Linked DNA regions of Homo sapiens: region 1 is linked to region 2. The links are contacts of gene promoters, found by promoter capture Hi-C in blood cells and fetal thymus (Javierre and others, 2016). All regions are on one chromosome and are shown on one strand. Each heading gives the region's core, a stretch centred on a gene start or on the middle of the fragment in contact. The rest is flanking DNA. Distances are from core to core; before and after follow the strand shown.

Region 1 (6,652 bases), core at 311-2,810, 2.2 Mb before region 2:
TTGTGTTTCCTATTGACTGTAAACATCTTGTGGCCAGGAACCAGTGCTTCTTTCCTAAAGCTGTCGTTTGCTCTTGCAGTCATCTCCCCAGAGTAAACACAAAAGTATCTCAAAAGTAAGTGTGCAACAAAACTTTCCCTTCAAGGGGAAATCCCAACCCAACATTACTTCACATACAGAATTCTGGTACTCATTTTCTCTTCCAAAGTAGAGACTGGTATTAACTAGTTCCTAGAACTGCCAGTAGGAGCCCTACGACAAGCTCTTCTCCCATCTTGTCCTTGCCCCGCCCCCTCTGAAGTCCAGAAATGACTCGGCTTCTAACTTGTATAATATAACCCTCTACCAGGTACACTTTTCTCAGCACTGGGAATAATCTGACACGCCCAAGGTCATATAAAAAGCCTGCCTCCTGAACCAGGTTCTAGGTTCGGCGGACAAACTTCTGGTTCTACTACCTCTAAGGGTAAGACCCTGCTCAATTTCAGAGGCTGTGGCTTAAGCACCTCCTGAGGGGAGCAGTTTCCTTCAAGAAATACTAAGCCAAGTCAACCTGTAATTATTCTAAAGAATGCCAAGAGGCCTCAAACCCTGCCTCAAAGGCAGTGCAGCAAGACGGTAAAGATTCTCACTACTAGCTATGTGATCTTAAGTCCTCCAAGGCTCACTTTCATCACATTCGAAATGAAAACAACCATATCTGAATTTGGAGGAATCCTTGTGATGATTAAATGAGACAGTGCATCCAAAATACTTACTGTAGTGTCCAGCAAAGCAAACTCTTAAAGTTAGCTAGAATCATCACTATAAACCAGGCTGGGCCTCCAGCCGGCGCTTGATTAAGCGCTGACTTAGCCAAGGAACTAGGCTCCGATTCTATGACCCCAATCAACTTATTCCCGTAGGCGCCACTCCACACCCTTCCGAGCTCCTTCGGGTATTGGGCGCCGGCCGCCCCAAACCTCCCAAAGCCCCTCTCCTCTCAATCCAAACGCTTGGAGGCAGGCTGCACCAAGGCATTAGCTGGCGCACTCCCCTCCCGGAGCCCCCCAGGCGCGCCTCCTGGCCACCGCAGCCAGGGGTTGCCTCTCTCCCCTCCCCCTCCGCGACCTCCCTTCCCCTCCCCCCATGCAAGGCCCCGCCCGCCCTCCCCCCCGGCCTCGTCCTCCCTCCCACCCCCTCCTCCCTCCCACCCCCTCCTCCCTCCAGCCCCTTCCCACAGTGCCTCCGACCCCAGCTGCCGCGCGGTTCGAACGAGGCCCTCCCAGCGCCTCCTAGTCTCCCGGCCTCCTCGGACAGAGCGCCCGCAACCCCCGTCTCCAGTGGCCATACCGGCTTGCGGAGGCCGCGGCCGCCGCCTCTCCGCAGGTCTCCGCTGAATGGGCGGACGCGAGGCCACTGGACTGGGGCGTCGCGGGGAGGCGGTGGTCACGGCCCCCTCGGTTGCCCTTCGCGACCGCCGCACCTCGCTCGCAGGCTCGCGCGGGCCCCGGCCAATCGCGCTGACCCAACAAGCCTAGCGAGAACTTGGGCTCTGTACGTGGCAGGTGGGGGAAGAACAGAGGCGGGAGCAAGAAAAAAAAAAATGTCCTTTCGCCCCTCCTTATTGCGCGTGGACATACCCAGGACGCATGCGCGACGGCGCGAGGCGCAGGGCTGGCTGGGTCCCGGCTGCCTAGGCCGAAGAGTCCCTGCTTTCTCACTGGATGACGGGATTTAGGAAGCGTGAGCTGCCCCGATGCACGCATGCGCGGGGCGTGACCACGCACTTCCGGTTTTCTCGAAAGCGGGTATTTCCGTTTCTCGCCAATGGGCGGGGCGTAGTGCGCTGTTCTAAACTTTTTGAGAGTTGGTTGCAGTAGACGTCTGTCCAACTTTAAGTGGTTTTTGTCGTTATTGTTGACCATTGTAGTAACAGCTGAAAAAGAAAAAACCTTTTCTTCTATAAATCCATTCATTCATTATTGGGAGCCTATGCTTTGCCAAGCCCGGTTCTAGGAATGGGGGTGAATCATTTTGTGAGCAAGGAGTTTCCAATTAAGCAGGGAAGACCTACAGCGTTTATGAGCAAGGAAAATCTGTAACTGTGTAAAGGACAAAAGCTGGGAAATTAAGGCTAAAGATTCCTGAGTGATTTTTAGAGGATAAGGCATTTGAGTGTGTCCTACGTACTCTTCCCTTCTCCCTTACCTGTTCAAATAGAAATACAGTATGAGTAAGTAGGAATTTATAGCCAAGGGGTGGAAGTCGGTCAGTGGATGGAAAATTACTAAGAGGAAATATCAGGGGCAAGGGAGATTCTGGCTAAACCAACACAACAGGATTCTAGACGAAGATAGGCCAGGATAGCAGACATCACCTGGGGGTGGTGGAGGATGAGGAACCCCATCAAGGGTGAGGGATTCTCACTACACTGCCTTAACAAGGTTCTTTGCTGAAACTGAGTTTTACAAGAAGATGCACAGATGGTCCTAGGAGAAGGCCCAGGAGCCCGAAGTTTGGCCAAACGGAGAATGTTTGTCACTTCTAAGGTGGAGACTAAGCTGATAAATAAAGCATTTAGACCCTACCTGGTCTCCAGTTGTTTACCAGTTATAAAAGAAAAACTTAAGCTGAATTAAATTTAAAGGAGTTTAATTGAGCAGTGAACGATTTCACGAATTGGGCAGCCCCCAGAATCACAGCAGATTAAGAGACTCCAGCAGAGCCACGTGGTGGAAGATTTATAGACAAAAAAAGGGAAATGAGGTACAGAAATTGGCAGTGAAGTACAGAAACAGCTGGATTGGTTACAGGTTGGCGTTGGCCTTATTTGAACACTTAGCAGTCTATGAGTGATTGAAGTGTGGCGGCTGGAATTGGCCAAGACTCGCTTATTGTAAGAGACGCATACTTCTAAGTTAGGTTTTCAATCTTGTCTGTTAAGCTAGGTTACAGTTCATCCACAAGGATTCAAGTATAGATGTATGGAGTCCTTCTCAGGCCATATTTAGTTTGCTTTAACACCAGATACTCCTAAAGGACCTGGAGTAAATTCTGGTGTTTCAGGGTGAGAAGCTACGTTCTTTTACAACCATAAGTAGTGTGATCTTTTTCAGTTATAAGTCTCTGAAACTTCTGTTTGAGAGTGAAATAATGTAAGTTTACACTGTTCACTTCTGATTTGTATTTTCCAACAGTTGTATTGACCTTTGAGCAATTGTTTGCAGGGATAAGGGAGTGGAGTACTGCAGAAGAAATGAAAAACAGTTCCTAATTGCTCTCCAAAGAATGTTATTCATTGCTTATTTTTTAAAACTGAATAATACAGATTTGGGGAGATGCACTGCTGTCAGATAATAGTATTATGATGTCATTAAGATGGTTTGGGATGGGGTAAAACCACAACCATATGGCAAAGGTAAAATATTCCCTGAAGGAAGTGAATTATACTACTGTTATAGTAGTATATTTAAACTAAAAAGAGGTCAGATCCTGAGGCAGGAGATAAGGAGGTGAACCTTGGCCTATTATAAGGTGAAAAGAGTATCTGCTGAGGATCCCCAGTGAGGGGGCACTCAAGAGTCCTGCTACTGAGGAGAAATAAGCTGGTCCCTGTTACACTGTGGTCATCTGTACGCTAGGAAGAGAGGCACCCATAAGCTGGCCTTGTGGAAAAGCTGGAGCTCATGGAGCTCATGGACTCCGAAAGCAACTTGAGGCTCTTTATGTTGTAATTTCCCTCATGCTTCATCCCGAAGCCATCAGTAAAGTCTTCTTTATGGTAAAGCCTATTCCCAGCTACTTCTGTGGAACTTGAGAGGTGGGGTTCTGGTGATTTCTCAAGTCGAAGCTGATGCACATCTATGTACTTAAGCTCCCAATAAATACAGGTGATATCTAGTGACAGAGCCATAACCTGAATTGAACCAGTTACCTCACTTACAAGAAGATGGGTCTCTTCTACTATGTCTGTAGATACATACTGGCCTTCTTTTCTGCATCTAGATGAATTTGGTTTTAAATGAACACTGAGCATAGTCTTGAACTAGAAAATACTACTCATTTCTTCCAAGGAACTGCTAAGAAAAAAAAGAAAAGAAAATACTGCTTAATGGTAGTATATTAAAGTTGAGGATATGTGAAGGAAGGAGAAGGAGTGCAAGGAAATATCTTTGACCCAGACTGTAGCAAGGAAAGATATGAGATTCTGCACTACACAGGTTATTTTCCATGTTTCATCTGAAGAAGGGTTAAGACTTACACTGTGATTTTAAGAGAAGGAGTCAACCAACCAACTTAGCTACCACCTGCTCTTTCTCCCTGAAAGTCTGTGTAGCTAAAACTCCTCACATGGAATGGGGGGAAAAAATCCTAAGAATGAAAACGGGATTCTCAGACTGGACAAGAAATGAGACAAAGACTATGAGCCCTGTTAGCAAGTTAGATAAAATCTATGTTTCATCATGTTCTTCTTTAGTACTTAGTATAAATCATTTTGAAAATTTGAGTCATCTTATATGTCCTCAGAAGAACAAAGGAAAGCGTGTACATTCCTCCTTGGATGAGAATTTCCAACGAGAAGTTATGTCCCTTGCCAAGAATCAGCTCTGTTGTGGCAGCAGCTAGCTAAAAAAAGAGAACTCCAAACAGAAGGGGAATCATGAGGACCAAACAGGAGCCAGCTAGTCAGCTCAGCCTCACCTTCACTGGCTAAATGTAAAGATTTGCTTGTGTGAACATAGGAAGCTGCCACCCTATGCAGAGATAATGAAGGAGAAAGGAACGATTTCTTACTTTGTACCTTTGAGTGAGTGATTCTTAGCACTAGCTAAGCAAAATACTTCAACCTGTCCTACCAGCTTCACATCCGTGAAATCCCTAAAATGCTTTTGCCTTACCATGATGCTCTATGTCCAATCTCTCTTTAGAGAAACTACTCTCAAAGGCAGTTCTTCCTAGATTTTGTATCACTAGAGGCTGATCTAGACATTCAATACATAGTTATTGAATAAAATAATGAAAACTAAGTTCCCCACCACTTTACAGGGCAAGCTCCCAGAAAAAACAAAAGGATCAGCTGTCAACGGGTAAGTTCCTAACTCCCTAGCCATGTAGGATTTGTCTCTTAGTAATTTGAAATCATTCACTTTTCTTCATTTACATCCCCTGGAGACAGTGCTAAGTTACCTCTCTGCTAAATTACCTGTCAGATTTCAAGTTGAAAGAGAAATGCAATTGTGAGCTGAATTGCATCCTTCCCCCAGAATTCATATATTGAACCACCTCAAAAGGTGACTGTATTTGGAGATGGATTCTTTAAAGAGGTGATTAAGTTAAAACGAGGTCATTGGGGTGAGCCCCTAATTCAGTATGACTGATGTCCTTATAAGAAGAGGAGATTAGGACACACAGAGAGAAACCAGAGATGGGTGCACACAGAGGCAAGGCCATGTGAAGATACATTAAGAAGGCAGCCTTCTGCAAGCCAAGGAGAGAGCCCTCAGAAGAAACCAAACTTACCAAATTTTTATTTCCAGCCTCCAGAACTATGAGAAAATAAATTTCTGATGTTTAAGCCACCCAGTCTGTGGTGTTTTGTTATGGTAGCCCTAGTAGACTCATACAAATGCCACAAGATGTGCAAGAAGATATAACTTTTCATTTGATCAAGAGTAGCTTTGTTAGGCTCATTTAAGAAACCTAGGCCCAATTAGCCGGGCATGGTGACATTCGCCTGTAATTCCAGATACTGGGGAGACTGAGACAGGAGAATTGCTTGAACCTGGGAGGTGGAGGTTGCAGTGAGCCAAGTTCGTGCCACTGCACTCCAGCCTGGGTGACAGAGCGAGACTCCAGCTCCAAAAGAAAGAAAGAAACCGAAGCCCAGTGTGGTGGCTCCTCATGCCTATAATCCCAGCACTTTGGGAGCCCAAGGCAGGATGATCACTTGACCCCAGAGTTTAAAACCAGCCTGGGCAATATAGTGAGACCCTGTCTCTACTAAAAATAAAAATCAAAAAAATTAGCCAGGCATAGTGGCATGTACGTGTAGTCTCAGCTACTTGGGAGGCTGAGGCAGGAGGATCCCTTGAGCCCAAGAAGGTCAAGGCTTCAGTGAGCCATGATCTCACGCCATTGCACTCCAGCCTGGGTGACAGAGTGAGACTCTCTCAAAAAAAAAAAAAAAAAAAAAAAAGAAGAAAAAGAAAAGTAAAAGAAACCTAGTTGCCAGAGTCTAGGAATCATGCATATCAGAGACAAAATCAAACTCTGGGTACTTGGAGACACTCATGTCTCTAATCTAACATTTATGCCAAGGATCCTGCTTTTAGTCCCTCCATATAAATGCATAATTAAACAGCATTCTCAAAAAGCCATTTCAATAAAGAGAGACTTATAATAAAAGATGCAAAGTAAAACCACAATGAGATACCATTTTTCATATATTCATCTGAGAAAAATAAAATAGTTACATAACACTTTGTAAAAAAAAAAAGTATGTGGCAAAATAGGCATTCATGCTTTGTTGTGGGGACATTAGTTTGTATCAACATCTAAAATGCCTTATGACACAACAATTTCATTTACAGTGTACCAGAGAAACGCTTGCACATAAGAGCACACCCATTGTTTTGTTTTCAAATGAAAGACTATAGAGCAATTAAAAGAA
Region 2 (7,329 bases), core at 553-3,052:
TCCTTTATCTGTAGACTGAAGTTGTTTCTTCTCTCTCCTTTAAACTTCTCTTTTGCCTGGTTTACTGACCACATGATCTCAGTGGAGAGGTAAATCTGAAAGTGGGGAATTTCTTTTTTTGAGGCAGAGTCTTGTTCTGTCGCCCAGGCTGGAGTGCAGTGGCGTGATCTTGGCTCACTGCAAGCTCCGCCTCCCGGGTTCATGCCATTCTCCTGCCTCAGCCTCCCAAGTAGCTGGGACCACAAGCGCCTACCAACACGCCTGGCTAATTTTTTTGTATTTTTAGTAGAGACGGGGTTTCACCGTGTTAGCCAGGATGGTCTCGATCTCCCGACCTCGTGATCTGCCGCCTCGGCCTCCCAAAGTGCTGGGATTACAGGCGTGAGCCACCATGCCCGGCGGAAAATAGGGGATTTCTAATGAAGGCCAATGGATGAAGACATTTCCTGGAGTATAAGGGCATTTATGTGTCTTACTACACATTGACAATTTGCCTGTGCCTCTCCATCACTTTCTCTAGTTGGTGCCTCTGACAAATTTTTTTTTGATTATATGCTGTATATGAAAATCCAGAGTCATGTTTGAATATATTTGGCTACTACCTTATTATGTGCTGCATATGAATATCAGTTTCACCCACTCAGGTCAAAGAAATGTAAGTACAGATAGAGAAACATATCATGCCTTTAATCTGTCAAAGTGGTAGAAATTTAATATCAACTTGCAGCTCCCATCTTTCTCCTATGCTAAATTACAAGGCATTAGGGGACAGAGTGGGGGTTTGAGAGCCCCTCTGGTCCTTGAGTCAGCTTTCTCTGTCGGTTACTGTTGAGAAATCCACCATTTGCTGGTCCCAGGCCACGTTAATAGTTCCACTCATGTTATTGTTAAGATGTCCCTGCTTCCTGTCCATGAATTTCTGTGTTAAACCTGAGGGTTCAGAATCATTGTTGCCCCTGTGCCACACATCATCTGCAATCTCCAATGCTGTCCATGACCTTATCTGCTTGAGTGATGTTCCCCAAATTTCAGTCTTTTTCCTACTATACCCACAATTTTTTATTCATTTTTTGACATATCTGGTATCCTCAGTATTATTAACTTAATAGTTTTTAAAATAAGTGAAAAGAATTTAAAAGGAACAACATTGCTGCAATAGAAAACTAGTATCACTTGTCATAAAAAGAAGGCAGCTACAAACACATTTTATGAAACCCAAATAATATCATTACATTCTTGATGGATACTGTCTGCCAGGTCACATACTTCTTAGCCTAAACTTATGCAATAAAACCAGAAGGATGCTCTGCTCCAATGGGAGGGATTCTGGGAGAGGGAAATAAAATGGGTCAACGTTTCACAAGTAGAATCCCATTTTTGTTCATTTATACTTAGATCTAGAGGCAGGGTGGTGTGATAGGGAAAGCACAGGCCTAAAAGTCAGATCTAAGTTATACAAGTCACGGTCATTGACTCGAGATGACCGGAAACAGGCCCGCTTTACTTTCTGGACCATTCTCCCTTCCTCCCTAAAATGCAAGAATCCAACAGCCTAGACTTCCCTTCTGCGTACCGGCTTGCCCTGAGGAGCTGAACTACATCTCCCACAATGCGCCGCGCGCGGCGCCAGGAATGCCTATCGCCGCCTCAGACAGCTTTCAGTCTGTCCCTCCTACAACTCCCACAAGGCCCCTCGGCCCCGGGCCGCGGCCCGGCCCGGAGTGGGGGCGGGCGGAGGCGCGGGAGTTATGGAGGGGGCGGGCTCTGCAGGGAAGTGCGTCAGAGGAGGCGCGGGGAGAGTAGGGTGCTGTGGTCTGAGCTAGAGGGTGAAGCTGGCGGAGCAGGAGGATGGGCGGTGAGTGAGCGGGACCTGCGTCGCCGGGCAGGGGTCGCGTCGCGGTTCCATGTTCCCGGCGGTTTGAAGAGGGGCCCCCTTCCCGGGCGTGGTCGGGCTGGGCGGGTTCCGAGCGGCGGATTTGTCCCAGGGCCGAGCCCTCTAGGGCGGGGCCTGGTCGGGTACCGGGGGACCCTGGCCCGGGGCCGAGCACGGCTGCCCCGCCCCAGCCCTGGCCTTCTCCGGCCCCGCCGTGAGGCCCAGGAGGTGGCTGCTGCAGGCGTCCGGCTTGGACGAACCGCCGTTCCCAGTGCTGGGACCCTTTAAGGTCATTTGAGAGCACCAGGATGAAGGGGGGATTTTTAAAAAATCAAAATACAAATCCAACTTTTTGAGTTTTCGTTGTCATTGCTCTTATCTTTCCTGAGTCACTTCCCATTTTCCAAACTCAGCAACCCCAGTTTGCGAGTCTGTTTTCATGAACCTTTGTAAGGTGTTTGGTGCGGTCACGGTGTATACTTGCCGTGTAGTATTTGACTCAGCGCGATCTGCCTTGAGTCATTTTACCGCGGCCATTTACTACTGCCGTTGAGCCCTGTCCACGCCTTGGGAGTGTTGATATGTTGAGAGTTTTCTGTCTGGCTGAGGAGGGATCATTTAGTTTTTGCGGACGTATGTTGCACTGAGGATTTAGGGAGAGAGCAAGATTTCTGTTGAGGAGGTTCAGAAGTATAAGGAATCGGGAGAGTAGATAGGAGTGAAGCATTTGGCAGCGTAAAGAAGCTTGGCTTAGCTTTAATGGATTAGGGAGAGATTGCTATCTAGCATTATTACATGTTATTGTTCTCTTTGCTATTTTATACACCTAGAACAACCTTTCCCTCGGGGTTAACAAACATCTTCAACTCTGTTTTCTGTATGGCTCCTGACTCTTACCTTTGTTTTAGGAGGCTTCCCTCTTCAGAGGAAACTGGGAGAAGCCAATTTCCACTGCTTCTTTTTCCTGTGCCTTTTTAACACTCAAACCCAGAACACTTAATCCTCTGCAGCTCGTGCAAAAATTCAGTCTGTAATTTAAAATGTGTGCACGGTACACTGCTGACCATGGGCATGTCTATTGTTTGTATCTGTAATGTGTATGTCCATTTCAGTGTTGTCTGTTTTAGTATGCAGGTGATAGACTAGAGAACAAGACCTCTGTCTCCGTAGCATCCTGGGTATGTGAGCATTCAATAAGTACTTTTATGAGAATGAGTTTTGTTTTAAGCTTAATTAAAAACATGCTTGCTTTCTAAAAAAAATTCTTAATGGTTATATGTACGAAGGGATGGGGAATTGGGTAAAGGGTGCATTTGGAATAATTCAAAATAATCTTTCTTATTTGTCCGTAAACTCTAACTTATCTTCTTTCTTCAACTTCTAAACAGAGCAGTCTGAATGCCAGAATGGATAACCGTTTTGCTACAGCATTTGTAATTGCTTGTGTGCTTAGCCTCATTTCCACCATCTACATGGCAGCCTCCATTGGCACAGACTTCTGGTATGAATATCGAAGTCCAGTTCAAGAAAATTCCAGTGATTTGAATAAAAGCATCTGGGATGAATTCATTAGTGATGAGGCAGATGAAAAGACTTATAATGATGCACTTTTTCGATACAATGGCACAGTGGGATTGTGGAGACGGTGTATCACCATACCCAAAAACATGCATTGGTATAGCCCACCAGAAAGGACAGGTATTTCTCTTATTTTAACTTCTGTCTTCTTCACCTGGTTAATAATAGACAAAACGACGTAATGATTGCCCAATTACATGTAAGCAGGTTTGTTGGTTCTCTCTCTCCTTAAAGAAATAAATCGTGTATCTTCTCTTTCTACTGCCTTCTCTCCCCAACTTCTTTGCATTACCATGGTACTCATCAATATTGGTTGGATGAGGAACTTTTCTTATCTTGGGAAAGCCTTAATGGCTTTTTTTTTTCTTATTTACTCACTCATTAAAATACTTTTCATTACTCTAACACATGTTATAAAGAAATAGTTGGAAAAGTACATCGAAAGACTTTTAAAAATATTTGGTAACTAGTAAAAGGACTACCATCGAAAATCAACTCAAAAAATTGTCCTTTTATGGGTTAGCTGTATTATAATACATATCTATCATTTGCCCCTGTGTCTTAGAGGATATAATTTGACCAGCTCTACATTTAATCTGTGTAATTATGAGACTGTTTTACAACAATCTTGATGCAGAGTTGGTAGGTTAAGAAATTTGTATTACAGAAGTTAAAAAAAAAAAACCAAAAACTAGATTTTTAGGTTTATTTTACAGGCATTCTTATTTAACACTTAAAGATTTTGATTTCCAGTTATTAAAATGGTAGCTTTAGAACTCTTTGTAAGGAACAACTTTACAGTTTATTTATGACTACTTCTGTTGGCCCCTTAGTGGGGAAGCATTGTATTCAAATCATAGCAGAACAGGCTTGAGTTATGATATATCAAAAGGATGATAATATGTCACTGTATCTGGAAAAAAAGATAATTTGGAAGGAAAGGAGAGAAAGTTGGTTAAAATTCATTGTAAAATGTTCAGTTTGACTTATGAGGTTACAGGAGCACTTGATATTGAAATTGGAGTTGGAATTGGAGTGTTACCATTTAGTCATTCATTAAACAAATAATTTATTGCATGTCTCCATGTTCCAGGGCCTCTTAGCTGGGAGAACATCAGGAAAGAACAAAATCCTTACTCCTGGGGAGCTAGCATTCTAATAAAGGATGACAGGCAGTGAACAGAATATAACAGTATAAACAGAATAAATAATTATTCAGTATGTTAAAAGATGACATGTGCTATGGCAAAATAGAACACAAAAGGGATTTGGAAATATGTGGGAAAAGGAATATTGGTGGCCATAGGTTATGATTTTCAATAGGATACTTAAAGTAGGTCTCATTGAGAAGACACCACTTGAGTAAAGAATGTAGTTAAAGACTAGACAAAAGAGTTGGCCATATGGGTAAATGGGGAGGAAGTCATTTAGGTTGGAAAGGACATCTACTGCAAAGGCTCTATGGCGGGAGCATGCCTGAAATATTCAAGGACCAGTAAGGAAGCCACTGGGCTGGAATGGAGGGAGAGACGGGAAGTTGGGTATGCTGTTAAAGACCTACTTTGGGAGTGGGACTGGGGCAAATCCTGGAGGACTCTAGGCAGAATGAGAACTTTGGTGTTGACTCCAGATACAGTGCTGAGCCCTGATCTGGTCACCCTGGCTGTTGTGAGAACAGAGGCAGCAGACAAAGGTGGAAACTAGAAGACTATGGTTAGGAGGTTATAGAAGTAATTCAGGTTAAGTGATGATTATGACTCACACCAGAATGGTAGCACTGAGCAGCAGCTGGATTCTGGACATAGTTTGAAGGAAGAATTCCTGGGATTTCCTGATGGAGTGTAAATGTACAAGAATTACTCTAAAGTTTCTGGTCTGAGGAACTGGAAGTGTGGATTTGGCATTCCCTGAGATGGGAATATGGTTGATAAAGCACGGTTGCATGAGAAGATCAACATTCCTATTTATTTCAGTCTTTGTTCCCTCCCCTTCTTCCTAGGCTTTCTACATAGCTATTCTGCCATTCATTTTACTGCTTCCACTTTATTTTTCTTCCTTGTGCCTATGTCTTCAGCCTGCCACTGAGAACCAGTGGCATCCATTGGACATCTATGAAACCTGTGTGTCAGTCAGGGCCAGAGAAGTTGCTGACCCCTCTGGAAACATCCTTTACTGTTTTACTTCAGAGAATAATTACTGAAAGAGATTTTTGTTAAATGTTTATAATTAAAACAACAGGCAATTGTTCTTGTTCCAGAGTCATTTGATGTGGTCACAAAATGTGTGAGTTTCACACTAACTGAGCAGTTCATGGAGAAATTTGTTGATCCCGGAAACCACAATAGCGGGATTGATCTCCTTAGGACCTGTGAGTACTTTGATTTCACCAGGACAGTTGGGGGAACAAAGATAATTTTATTTGTCTCTTTTTGGACTATGTTTTTGGAATAAGATGAGTTAGTAGATTGTGCCAACGTGAAATAAAATCTCTAACAGTATCCAGTGAACTCTATTCTGTTGATATTTTAGAAGGTAGATACATGCTTACCAAATTTCAAATGATTTGAAGTTGACAGGGCCAACTACTTCATTGGATGATGGGATCTAGACCTTCAAAAGATGTTATTAATGGGCCCATTTAGTAAAAGGAAATTTAGTTGAGATAACTTATACATTCCTATATTTGAATTAAACACTTTCCACTGCTTGAGTTCAGGTAAGTATATGTGAAAAAAGTTTACTGCAAGCTCTAAATGAGTCAGTGAGTTGTCAGGCCTGTCAAAAGTGTTTATCCAGTCTTAGGTGATAGTAACAAAAGGGTAGATGTCAAAAAAGATGAAAGTATTTATTAGGAACAACCTATTCCCTGATGGTCAGGCAGCCCATGAAATACTGTCTTCAGATTTGAGCCTCAGTTTTCAGGGCTATAGGGACTTGCCCAGAAGAATGACCATGTTGTAAGAGAAAAGGTTGAATAAGAGGTAGGTATTCAGTTTTATAAAGAGAATGTGTAGCAAGCAGTTTATTACTAGGAGAGTTTGAAAGAAAGTAAGTTAGAAAAACACATAAGAAGTTCCAGAAAGCAAAACCAGCACCAAAAGGTGTAAAGTTTAGTCAAGATTGATATGAATGCATTTCTAATAATGAATATTATTGGAAAATGGAATGGCATGTTTTGTGAGGTCATCAGGTTTTCTTCCCATGTTGATGAGAGATTTATGATAATTAAAACTACCTTTAGATTCTCTGCTTTGTGCTTTATATATATTCTTCAACAGCCCTATAAGACAGGTCATTTATAATTACCATTAATTTACTTGTTGTTACTGCCTTTAGATCATATAAAGACCTAGATATTGTTGGTAGGTAGAGTCAGACTGATTTTTGTATCAAATCCTGGCTCTACCACTTACTGTGTTATTTTTACAAGTTATTTATGACTCTTGCCTCAGTTTCCTTAATTACAAAATGGAATTAATAATAATACAGCTGTAGCTATGGGGGATTGGATTCAGGACCCCCTGCTAATTCCAAGGTTGCTAAAGTACCTTATATAAAATGGCATAATATTAGCATATAACCTACACAATCCTCCTGTATACTTTAAATCATCTTTAGATTGCTTATAATACCCAATACAATATAAATGCTATGTAAATAGTTGTTATACTATATATTTGTAAATTTGTATCATTTTTTTTTCTGAATATTTTTAACCCTTGGTTAGTTGAATCTGCGGATGTGAAACCTGCAGATATGGAGGGCTGACTGTACCTACTTTCTAGGGTTGTTGGGAGGATTAATACAGAAAATGTGTAGACAAACATAGCATGGAACATAGTGAACCCTCAGTAATTGCTACTACCTGTTAGTGTCCT

Evidence for each region. Contacts are between HindIII fragments. The CHiCAGO score rates a contact against its expected background, and 5 or more counts as called.
Region 1: a contact is called between the fragment with the promoter of TFG here and the fragment with the promoter of CLDND1 in region 2, in 2 of 17 cell types (total B cells and naive B cells). The highest score is 12.1, in total B cells.

The regions. Positions count from the first base shown.
Region 1 is chr3:100,704,402-100,711,053 of GRCh38, reverse strand. TFG (trafficking from ER to golgi regulator) reads right to left here and starts at 1,560. Exons shown (of 8, transcript NM_006070.6): 1 at 1,333-1,560. RefSeq lists enhancers at 210-1,100, 1,101-1,992 and a silencer at 1,234-1,463. The HindIII fragment of the contact is 12,148 bases long and covers 1-6,652 here.
Region 2 is chr3:98,517,375-98,524,703 of GRCh38, reverse strand. It overlaps CLDND1 (claudin domain containing 1), which reads left to right and starts at 1,802. Exons shown (of 5, transcript NM_001040181.2): 1 at 1,802-1,855; 2 at 3,262-3,571; 3 at 5,709-5,819. The coding sequence starts at 3,280. CLDND1-AS1 (CLDND1 antisense RNA 1) reads right to left here and starts at 2,134. Exons shown (of 2, transcript NR_198998.1): 1 at 1,871-2,134. RefSeq lists an enhancer at 224-353 and silencers at 1,556-2,195, 2,246-2,355. The HindIII fragment of the contact is 2,905 bases long and covers 1-2,619 here.